Regions from separate parts of the Homo sapiens genome. Here region 1 is linked to region 2. Evidence: promoter capture Hi-C in human tissues and cell types (Jung and others, 2019). All regions are on one chromosome and are shown on one strand. Each heading gives the region's core, a stretch centred on a gene start or on the middle of the fragment in contact. The rest is flanking DNA. Distances are from core to core; before and after follow the strand shown. Region 1 overlaps JAK2 (Janus kinase 2). Region 2 holds the start of AK3 (adenylate kinase 3).

Region 1 (6,902 bases), core at 1,903-4,402, 330 kb after region 2:
GAAGAGAGATGTAGTGAACCTCAAGACAGATCTGAAGAAATTAAGAATGCAGCAGTTAGGGAGAAAGAAATGGATTATATGAAAGAGGGATTAAGTGGCATGGAAGGCAAAATGAGAAAGACCCAACTCATATCTGAGCTCTATAAGGAGACAATAGATAGAATTAGCCAGAATGGTAAAGACAAGCATCTTCATGTGAGTAACAGGAAACAGAGTGGCCAGGTAACTTGACTAACATTACAAATCTAATAAATAGTAGACCTTGGATTTGAACACAAGCAGCCTTACTGCAGAGTGCAGGCTTTCAACAATTACTTTGTAAAGATATGCAAGAAATACTAGTATTAGTAGTAATAGCTGATACTTAATGCACATTTACTATGTGTCATGGACTGTGCTAAGTGCTTTTATGTATTTATTCACTTATTGATCATAACAATCCTATGGGAAAATAGTTATTATTCTCATTTTTCAGATGAAGAAACCACGACAGCTGCAGCACAGAGATTAAATAGCCTGTACAAGGTCATACAAGTGGTAATAAGAGAAAGTCAGATATTCTGCCTCTGCAGACCACATTCTCTAGTGTGCTAGTAGGAAAGGCAAAGAAAATGATTCCCATGTAAGCAAATGTAGGTAAACACTGACTCTATTTTTAAAAAGTGACAATTATAGCCCATTCAGGAGATTTCAAAACCGAGTAGAGCCAAAATACACTTAATTCATTAATCCTTGTTTTCTGTCTCTTATTACTATTTAAGGAAGCAGAATAAAAGCATTAATTTGGAGTCTTAAATCTGGATTTAGATTCTAAGGAAAATACTTGCTTATGGATTTAAAAAAATTCTTCCTCATTGAATGTATTTTCTTGTTCCTACTTCGTTCTCCATCTTTACTCATTCTTTTCTTTTACCTTTTTCTCTTGAAGAATGAAAGCCTTGGCCAAGGCACTTTTACAAAGATTTTTAAAGGCGTACGAAGAGAAGTAGGAGACTACGGTCAACTGCATGAAACAGAAGTTCTTTTAAAAGTTCTGGATAAAGCACACAGAAACTATTCAGAGGTGTGTATGTTCTTTATATTGTTCATGTAGTTTATGCTGTTTAAAGATGTGCTCTCATATGCATACAACGTACTCATGTGTGCAGCTTTTCAAAATTGTAATTTTTAAATGTGTCAAGGACTTTTCTGAGGATACATTCTTGTGGGGCTATAGAATTACAGGGTTTGAAAATTACCGGATTAAAAAAATTAATTCCAAACTAATTATGTTTAGCATTATGTTAGGAGTGTTATTACATTTCTGCATATACTGTGGCCTTGATTTTCAAACTTGGCTCCCCAGAGCTTTATGGGTTACACAGAGGCTCCTCTACAATTACATTTATTTGAAAAAAAAACAAAAAACCAAGTTTCAAAGGCACTGTACTAAGGAACATGCTTAGTGAAATCTAGATGCCTCTGGGCATCATCCAGAGATGCTAGCTGGCAGACCCCGTGGCCAGTTGCCAGAGCTCTGAACATAGCAAGATATGATACTTACAATATCTTAAAGGGTGTTGGTGTTAGAAGATGATGTGAAAAGTTCAAGCCAAAGAGTTGTTCTAATCCAGAATACCACAGTATTGGTGATTGTGATTCACTAATCATACCCAGGGGTTCTAGTCACAGTTTAGTTGAATTAGAGTGATGTTAAAACTATGCTAGTATCCTGACACAGATGTCGTGATATTTTATCTGCACATTCTTAATTCTTTAGCAAGTGTTATTTAAAGGCTACATCCATCTACCTCAGTTTCCTATATCTATCTCTGACATCTACCTCTAGTTGTACTTCTGTCCTCTATTTCAGGTGTTATGGGTCAAGCCTGTTTGACTGGCATTATTCATGATTCCTGTACCACTCTTGCTCTCTCTCACTTTGATCTCCATATTCCAGGCTTACACAGGGGTTTCCTCAGAACGTTGATGGCAGTTGCAGGTCCATATAAAGGGACCAAAGCACATTGTATCCTCATCTATAGTCATGCTGAAAGTAGGAGAAAGTGCATCTTTATTATGGCAGAGAGAATTTTCTGAACTATTTATGGACAACAGTCAAACAACAATTCTTTGTACTTTTTTTTTTCCTTAGTCTTTCTTTGAAGCAGCAAGTATGATGAGCAAGCTTTCTCACAAGCATTTGGTTTTAAATTATGGAGTATGTGTCTGTGGAGACGAGAGTAAGTAAAACTACAGGCTTTCTAATGCCTTTCTCAGAGCATCTGTTTTTGTTTATATAGAAAATTCAGTTTCAGGATCACAGCTAGGTGTCAGTGTAAACTATAATTTAACAGGAGTTAAGTATTTTTGAAACTGAAAACACTGTAGGACTATTCAGTTATATCTTGTGAAAAAGGAAAGCAATGAAGTTAAAAGTAGAAGGTTACAATGCCCAAACAATAGAGTATTATAGTAAACAAATGTCTATAAAACATTTTGTGTTCATGATAGCAAAAGAGATTATGGCAGGTTCAACATAACATTGGAATAACTGGCCTTTTCAGTACAAACTTATCTGGAATTATGAAGACAAAGCATATAAATGATACACTTAATTTTTAATGGAACTGACAGAAATGATTATGTTGATATGATACTAGATATATTTTTTGGCTAAATTTAGGTGTTCACAGAAACTACTAAAAGTATAAATCGTACCCCATGCTTTAATACTATACAGGCATGCCTCATTTTATTGCACCTTGCTTTATTGTGCTTCTTAGATATTGTATTTTTTACATATTGAAGGTTTACGGCAACCCAGTGTCTAGCAACTCTGTCAGCAACATTTTCCCAACAGCATGTGCTCATTTCATGTCTCTGTGTCATATTTTGGTAATTCTAGCAACATTTCAAACTTTAAAAAAATCATATGGTGATCTGTGATCAGTAATCTTTAATGCTAGTATTGTAATTATTCTGGGGTGTCCCAAACAGAGAGAATATAAGAAGGCAAACTTCATAGATGAATGCAGTGTGTGCTCTGACTGCTCCATCAATGAGCCATTCCTCTGTCTCTCTCCCTCTCCTGGGGCCTCCCTATTCCCTGAGACAACAATATTAAAATTAGGCCATTTAATAATCACACAATGGTCTTTAAATGTTCAAGTGAAAGGAAGATTCACCCGTCTCTCACTTTAAATGGAAAGCTAGAAATGAAGCAGCAAACGCTGATGTGGAAGCTGCAGCAGTTATCCAGAAGATCTAGCAAAGACCATTGATGAAGATGGCTTAGAGAGGAAGGCATGCTGAAAGCCAAGACAAGCTGAAAGCTAGGCCTCTTGCACTAAAAAGGCAAGTTATGAATCCAAAGGAAAAGTCCTTGAAGGAAACTGAAAGTGCTACTCCTGTGAGCACATAAATTACAAGAAAGTGAAACAGTCTTATTGATGATACAGAGAAAGTTCTAGATAGAAGATCAAACCAGTCACAACATTCCCTTGAGCCAAAGCCCAATCTAGAGCAAGATCTTAATGCTCTTAAATTCTATGAAGGCTGAGAGAGGTGAGGAAGCTGCAGAAGAAAAGTTGGAAGCTAGCAGAGGTTGGTTCATGAGGTTTAAGAAAAGAAGCCATGTGCACAGCATAAGTGCAAGGTGAAGCAGCAAATGCTGATGTGGAAGCTACAGCAAGTTATCCAGAAGATCTAGCAAGGACCATTGATGAAGATGGTGACACTAACAAACAGATTTTCAAATGTAAACAAAACAGCCTTCTGTTGGAAGAATATGCCATCTAGGACTTCCACAGCTAGAGAGGAGAAGTCAGTGCTTGCCTTCAAAGCTTCGAAGGACAGGCTGACCCTCTTGCTAAGGGCCAATGCCATTGGTGATTTGAAATTCAAACCAGCGCTCATTTACCATTCCAAAAATCCCAGGGCTCTGCGAATTATGCTAAGTCTACTCTGCCTGTGCTCTATACATGGAACAAGAAAGCCTAGATGACAGCACATCTGTTTATAGCATGGTTTATTGACTATTTTAAGCCCATTGTTGAGACCTGCTCAGAAAAAAAGATTGCTTTCAAAGTATTACTGATCATTGACAATGCACCTGGTCACCCAAGAGCTCTGATGGAGATGTACAAGGATATTCATGTTATTTTCAGGCCTGGTGACACAACATCCATTCTGTAGCCCATGGATCAAGGAGTTATTTCAACTTTCAAGTCTTATTATCTAAGAAATACATTTTGTAAGGCTAAGCTGCCATAGATAGTGATTCCTCTGGTGGATCTGGGTAAAGTAAGTAGAAAAACTTATGGAAAGGATTCACCATTCTAGATGCCAGGAATAGCATTCATGGTTCATGGAAGGAGATCAAAATGGCAGCATTAATAGGAATTTGGAAAAAGTTCATTCTAACCCTCCTGGATGACTTTGAGGGATATGGTACTTTAATGAAGGAAGTCACTGCAGAGATGGTGGAAACAGAGAACTAAGAAGTGGAGCTTGAAGATGTGACTCAATTGCTACAATCTCACGATAAGCCCTGAAAGAAGGAGGAGTTGCTTCTTATGGATAAGCAGAGAAAGTGGTTTCTTAAGATGGAATCTACTCCTAGTGATGATGCTGTGAACATTGTGAAATGACAACAAAGGGTTTGGAATTTTACATAAACTTGATTGATCAAGCAGTTGCAGGGTTTGAGAGGACTGACCCTGTAAAGTTCTACTGTGGGTAGAAGGCTATCAAACAGCATTGCATGCTACAGAGAAATCTTTCATGAAAGGAAGAGTCTGCAGTGAATTTCATTGTTGTCTTATTTTAAGAAACTGCCACAGCTACCTGAACTTTAAGCAGCCACCACCATGATCAGTCAGCAGCGATTAACATCAAGCAAAAAGATTACAACTTTCTGAAGGCTCAGATTATCATTAGCACCTTTTTTGGCAATAAAGTATTTTTAAAAAGATATATTCTTTGTTTTTTTTAAGATATAACGCTGTTGCACACTAAATAGACTCCATTATAGTGTATATACAAGTTTTATATGCATTGGGATACCAAGAAATTCATGACTTGCTTTATTATGGTAGTCTAAAACCAAACTGGTAATATCTTCGAGGTATGCCTTTATTTTAGTGCCTCACAAAGTTTACATTCAAGAAAATTGTTTATATAATTCCCTATTTTCCACTAGTAATGCAGATTAAATACACATCTACACTTGTATGACATTTTTTCATATCTTTGAAAATTGATAATCTTCTCAAAAGCAGTGGTTTGGAACCTGTTATATGGAGGTATCTGAGAGGCTCCTGTGGACCATGAAGGAATCCAGGATTGTTTTTGGAAGCCAACACTTGTTTTTCTGGCAAAATATGTTTTATATATTTTTTTAAAAAAGTTTTAAAGATAAAGCAGCGCAAAACATTTCTGTATTTTTTGCAGAATTAAAAGATTAAATGGAGCTAGAACTCAAATTCTCCTTTATGTCTATAGTACTATAGACAATTGTTAGTAATTTTTGTGTGTAGAAGAACTTCAGGAAGGTTTGAATGTCTAAAAAGTTATGTGGAAGAGAAATTGAGAAATTTTCATTTATTTTTAAAAACCAGCCATAATTCAGTACTAATATATAAAGGTGTGCTGGTATATTATATATTATACATTTATGTTATATATAATAATATATAATTGTTTAGACTCCTACTCTTGCTGTTGTAAGTAAACTAAAAACCAAAAATATAATGCTGTGTATCCATTAAGTTTTCTTTAAAGTTGTGAGTTTTGCCAATTTAATTTCTTTACCTATAATGGTCACATGTAAGTATAAAGATTTAAATTACATATATTTAATTATATTTATACTTAAGCCTTATTATTATTACTTATATTTTAATGCAGATATTCTGGTTCAGGAGTTTGTAAAATTTGGATCACTAGATACATATCTGAAAAAGAATAAAAATTGTATAAATATATTATGGAAACTTGAAGTTGCTAAACAGTTGGCATGGGCCATGCATTTTCTAGTAAGTAGTACAACCTTTTTATCAAAAGATACTATTTTATTTTATAAAACAATATACAAATTATCTTTACCTGGAAACAAAAAATAAATCTGTAATTGGATGCCAATTCATGTAAAATAGTCTGTGTTAGGTGATAAAAAGAGATTACTTTAGGCATATGTTTATGTATGTAAAATCACTTTTGAAAAAAAAGTTTTGTCATCCCATCAATATCTTAGAACTACTAATAGACAATCTGTATGTTGTGTCTTTTGGATTTAGAAAATTCAACCAAAAATTATGCAGAAGTATGTGCTTCTGTATTTTTGGGCCATTGTACATTATGGTCCATGAGAAAGCGGTGTTGACAGAGAAGAATACCAGGGGGACTGCCAGTCATCAGACCCCTCAGGGTGCACCTATGTCCTGCTGCAGAACTGAAGTAGTATTTCTTAATGTCAGCTCCCATCCAGAAACACAAACCATGTCAGCCTTAGAACTCATGTGAAATGGCATTGGTAGTTTTAATTTATTCATTTCATCACAAGCATAGATTATTGTGTTATTTAAAATGTAAAACAGGAAGCATAGGAGTCATAAATTTCCTTTTTTCTCAATGCATGCCTCCAAATTATTATACTATCATGTATTTTTCTTCTTTAAATCTGTTTTGGGGGCTTGAACATACTAAATGCTCCAGTACTTGTGGACTGATATTTGAATATATGTGCGTTTAACTCTAATAGGAAGAAAACACCCTTATTCATGGGAATGTATGTGCCAAAAATATTCTGCTTATCAGAGAAGAAGACAGGAAGACAGGAAATCCTCCTTTCATCAAACTTAGTGATCCTGGCATTAGTATTACAGTTTTGCCAAAGGACAGTAAGTTCTAGAAGGATTATA
Region 2 (2,500 bases), core at 1-2,500:
TTTCTAGAAGGAAAACTCTGTTCCCCTCCGAAGAATGGGACTGAGGTAGGGAACGAAAGAGGGCGTTGTTTTTTATGCTATGCACGTCTATCCTGTTTGCTATCCTTACAAAAAAAAAAAAAAAAAGAAGGAAAACAAAAGAAAAAGGCCTTGTGGAAGCATTATTTCTATGTAAATGGGTTTCAAAATGAGTTTCAAAACGGGTTCTATTTTGAAAAGTAAGGTCAACATTTTTTGAGAAAAAAACTCCTGCGATTGGCTTTTCAAAAACAACCCTCTTAAGAGAGAATTTACATACCACAAATTCACCCATTGTATAGTGTAGATTGTTAACTGCCTTTCGTGCCGAGCTGTAAGAATTTATTTGGCATGAGAAACAAAATATTTTATAGAACCATGCACAAGAATAGCCTTCGTGTCTACGAAATCTAAGGATATCAAAATGAGATAATTTTATGACTGCAACAAGGGTAAATAATACTTGGCCTTGGGAATATGGGGGAAAGGTCAGAACTACAAGATCTCATAGAGCTTAACCACACCAAAAAAGAAAGAGAAAAGAAAGAAACAAAGAAAACAAAACAGAACGAGCAGACTCTAGCAGGGCTAATGACAGTCTTCCAAAGGCACCAGCACGTTGAACAAGCTGCGGCTCAGCTCGATGGACCCCCAAGAGTGGCTGCCACTGGGAGGACTTGGGCCTCTGAAACAAAGCCCGGTGGTTTCCTTTCATCTCTGAACTTCGAGCTCGACCTAACTTTCCAGTCCCTTCCCCCACCGCCACCCCATAACCCGCCCGAAGCGGCCCACGGAGGCCGGAGGTTTTGGGGCGCAGTCGCTCAGCAGCCCGAGGTCTCTGTCCCGGGCGGCGGGAGGGAAATGCCGCGCCCGCAGCCAGGGACCCGCGTGCCCAGCTTCGGCCCCTCGCCCGCGAAGTCCGACCCGGGTGACAGCGCACGGCCGGCCCTGGGCCCAGAGCTCCCACCTGTGCCCCGCAGCATGTTGTCCCGGAGCAGGTCCCCGCTGGAGAGGTGCTTCAGCTCGAAGTGTGTAGTGATGCGCGACGACACGGTGCCCTTGCCCGAGCCCGGGGCCCCCATGATCACCGCTCGCAGCAGCCGCGCGGACGCCCCCATGGCCGCAGACTGAGGCCCGCACCGCGCGGGTACCAGGGCTTTGGCCTGGCCTGCGCGCTCACCCGCTCGGCAGCCTGCGCCGGCCGGCTAGCAGCGCCACTAGCAGGCGGCTACTGCGGTTCCCCGGCGTTCCCGGAAGTGAGCCGACAGCCCCTGGGGCCGCCCAGACAGCGCGGGACCCCGCTGTTGCGTCCGCCTCTCGGCTACCCCGGCGCACCCCCCGCCCCCGACCGAGCGCCTGTTCCCGCCCAGCCGCGCAAGCCGCGCAAGCCGCGCCCCCTCTGCGCTCGCTCGGCCGCCCAGCTCCCACCTGCGCCTCTCCGCGGCCCCTCTCCACCGGCCGCTGGGCCCGGATCCCTTCGGCGCCCCTCTGCACCCACCCCCACGCGCCCTCCACTCGGCTCAGATCTACCTCCGCGCCTCTCCGCGACCCCGGAACCCCGCGCCCTGTCCGGCCCATTCCCAGCCGGATAGACCGCGCTCCCCTCTGTCCGACCTTGGCAACTCCTGCGCGCCCCCTCCCCACCTCTAGTCGCCCCTCGGAGCCGCTTGGTTTCGGGATCCACCCGCATCCACCCCTCCAACAACCCTTTCGTAGCCCTCGCCCCTAGTCCATAGCAGGCGCTGCCCTACCCAGTCCTTGCCGGACACACCGCGACCCCTTTCGTGCTCCCTTGACAACCCTGGCCCCACCTCCACCTGGCGCCCACTCGAATCCGCCCCTCCCTTCTACCCCCCTGGACCGCCAGACCCCCCGCTTCTGCACCCACTCCCGCCTTCGCCCTTCCCTCCTTCCTCCTCCTCCTCTGCTGCCGAGCGCCCTCTCTTCCCACTCCCTCTCTGTGTAGAATCACAGGGAGTGACCTTGAGCCGAGAGGGCCTACCTCATTTTACAGGAGAGGAAATCCAGCTTCCATTGAGTGAGACTCTTTTATAAATAACGTAAAAGAGTGTGTGAAACTGTGGAGGCAGGCTGTTGTAGATAGGCGGTCGGAAAAGCTTTGAAGAGATGGCATGTGTGCTGAGTGCTTAATTAGAATATGGAAGAGAGAGACATGGGCCCTTCCTATGTCCAGTTTTAGGAAAAGGCCCTAAAACTGGAGGTTTGGCATGTTTCAAGAATGGAAACAGAGGACAAAAACGTTCGAGTGAGTATCATTTTGCCTGTAAAATGGGCATAGAGGAGTAGAATGGAGGAGTTAAAATAATGTAGTACTTAGTGCAATGCCAGCTACGGGGTCAATGTTCAATAATGGTTGTCCATTTATCATCATTGCTTTGTCCCGGACACTATGCTAAGGCAGAAAGAAGGCTCTCTGAAAATAAAACACAGTTACCATTCTCCTCAGAGGTCCAGAACTGAT

Evidence for each region. Contacts are between HindIII fragments. The study calls those that stand out against the background at their distance.
Region 1: a contact is called between a fragment that was not itself captured here and the fragment with the promoter of AK3 in region 2, in 1 of the 25 tissues and cell types used here (lymphoblastoid cells).

Annotation. Positions count from the first base shown.
Region 1 is chr9:5,071,564-5,078,465 of GRCh38, forward strand. It overlaps JAK2 (Janus kinase 2), which reads left to right. Exons shown (of 25, transcript NM_004972.4): 13 at 929-1,063; 14 at 2,135-2,222; 15 at 5,890-6,017; 16 at 6,743-6,881. It also overlaps a transcript of INSL6 not described here. Among named protein-coding and RNA genes, the nearest start is that of JAK2, 90 kb to the left of the region's middle. The HindIII fragment of the contact is 4,435 bases long and covers 936-5,370 here.
Region 2 is chr9:4,739,952-4,742,451 of GRCh38, forward strand. It overlaps AK3 (adenylate kinase 3), which reads right to left and starts at 1,251. Exons shown (of 5, transcript NM_016282.4): 1 at 986-1,251. The coding sequence starts at 1,136. RefSeq lists silencers at 781-920, 1,151-1,640. The HindIII fragment of the contact is 7,449 bases long and covers 1-2,500 here.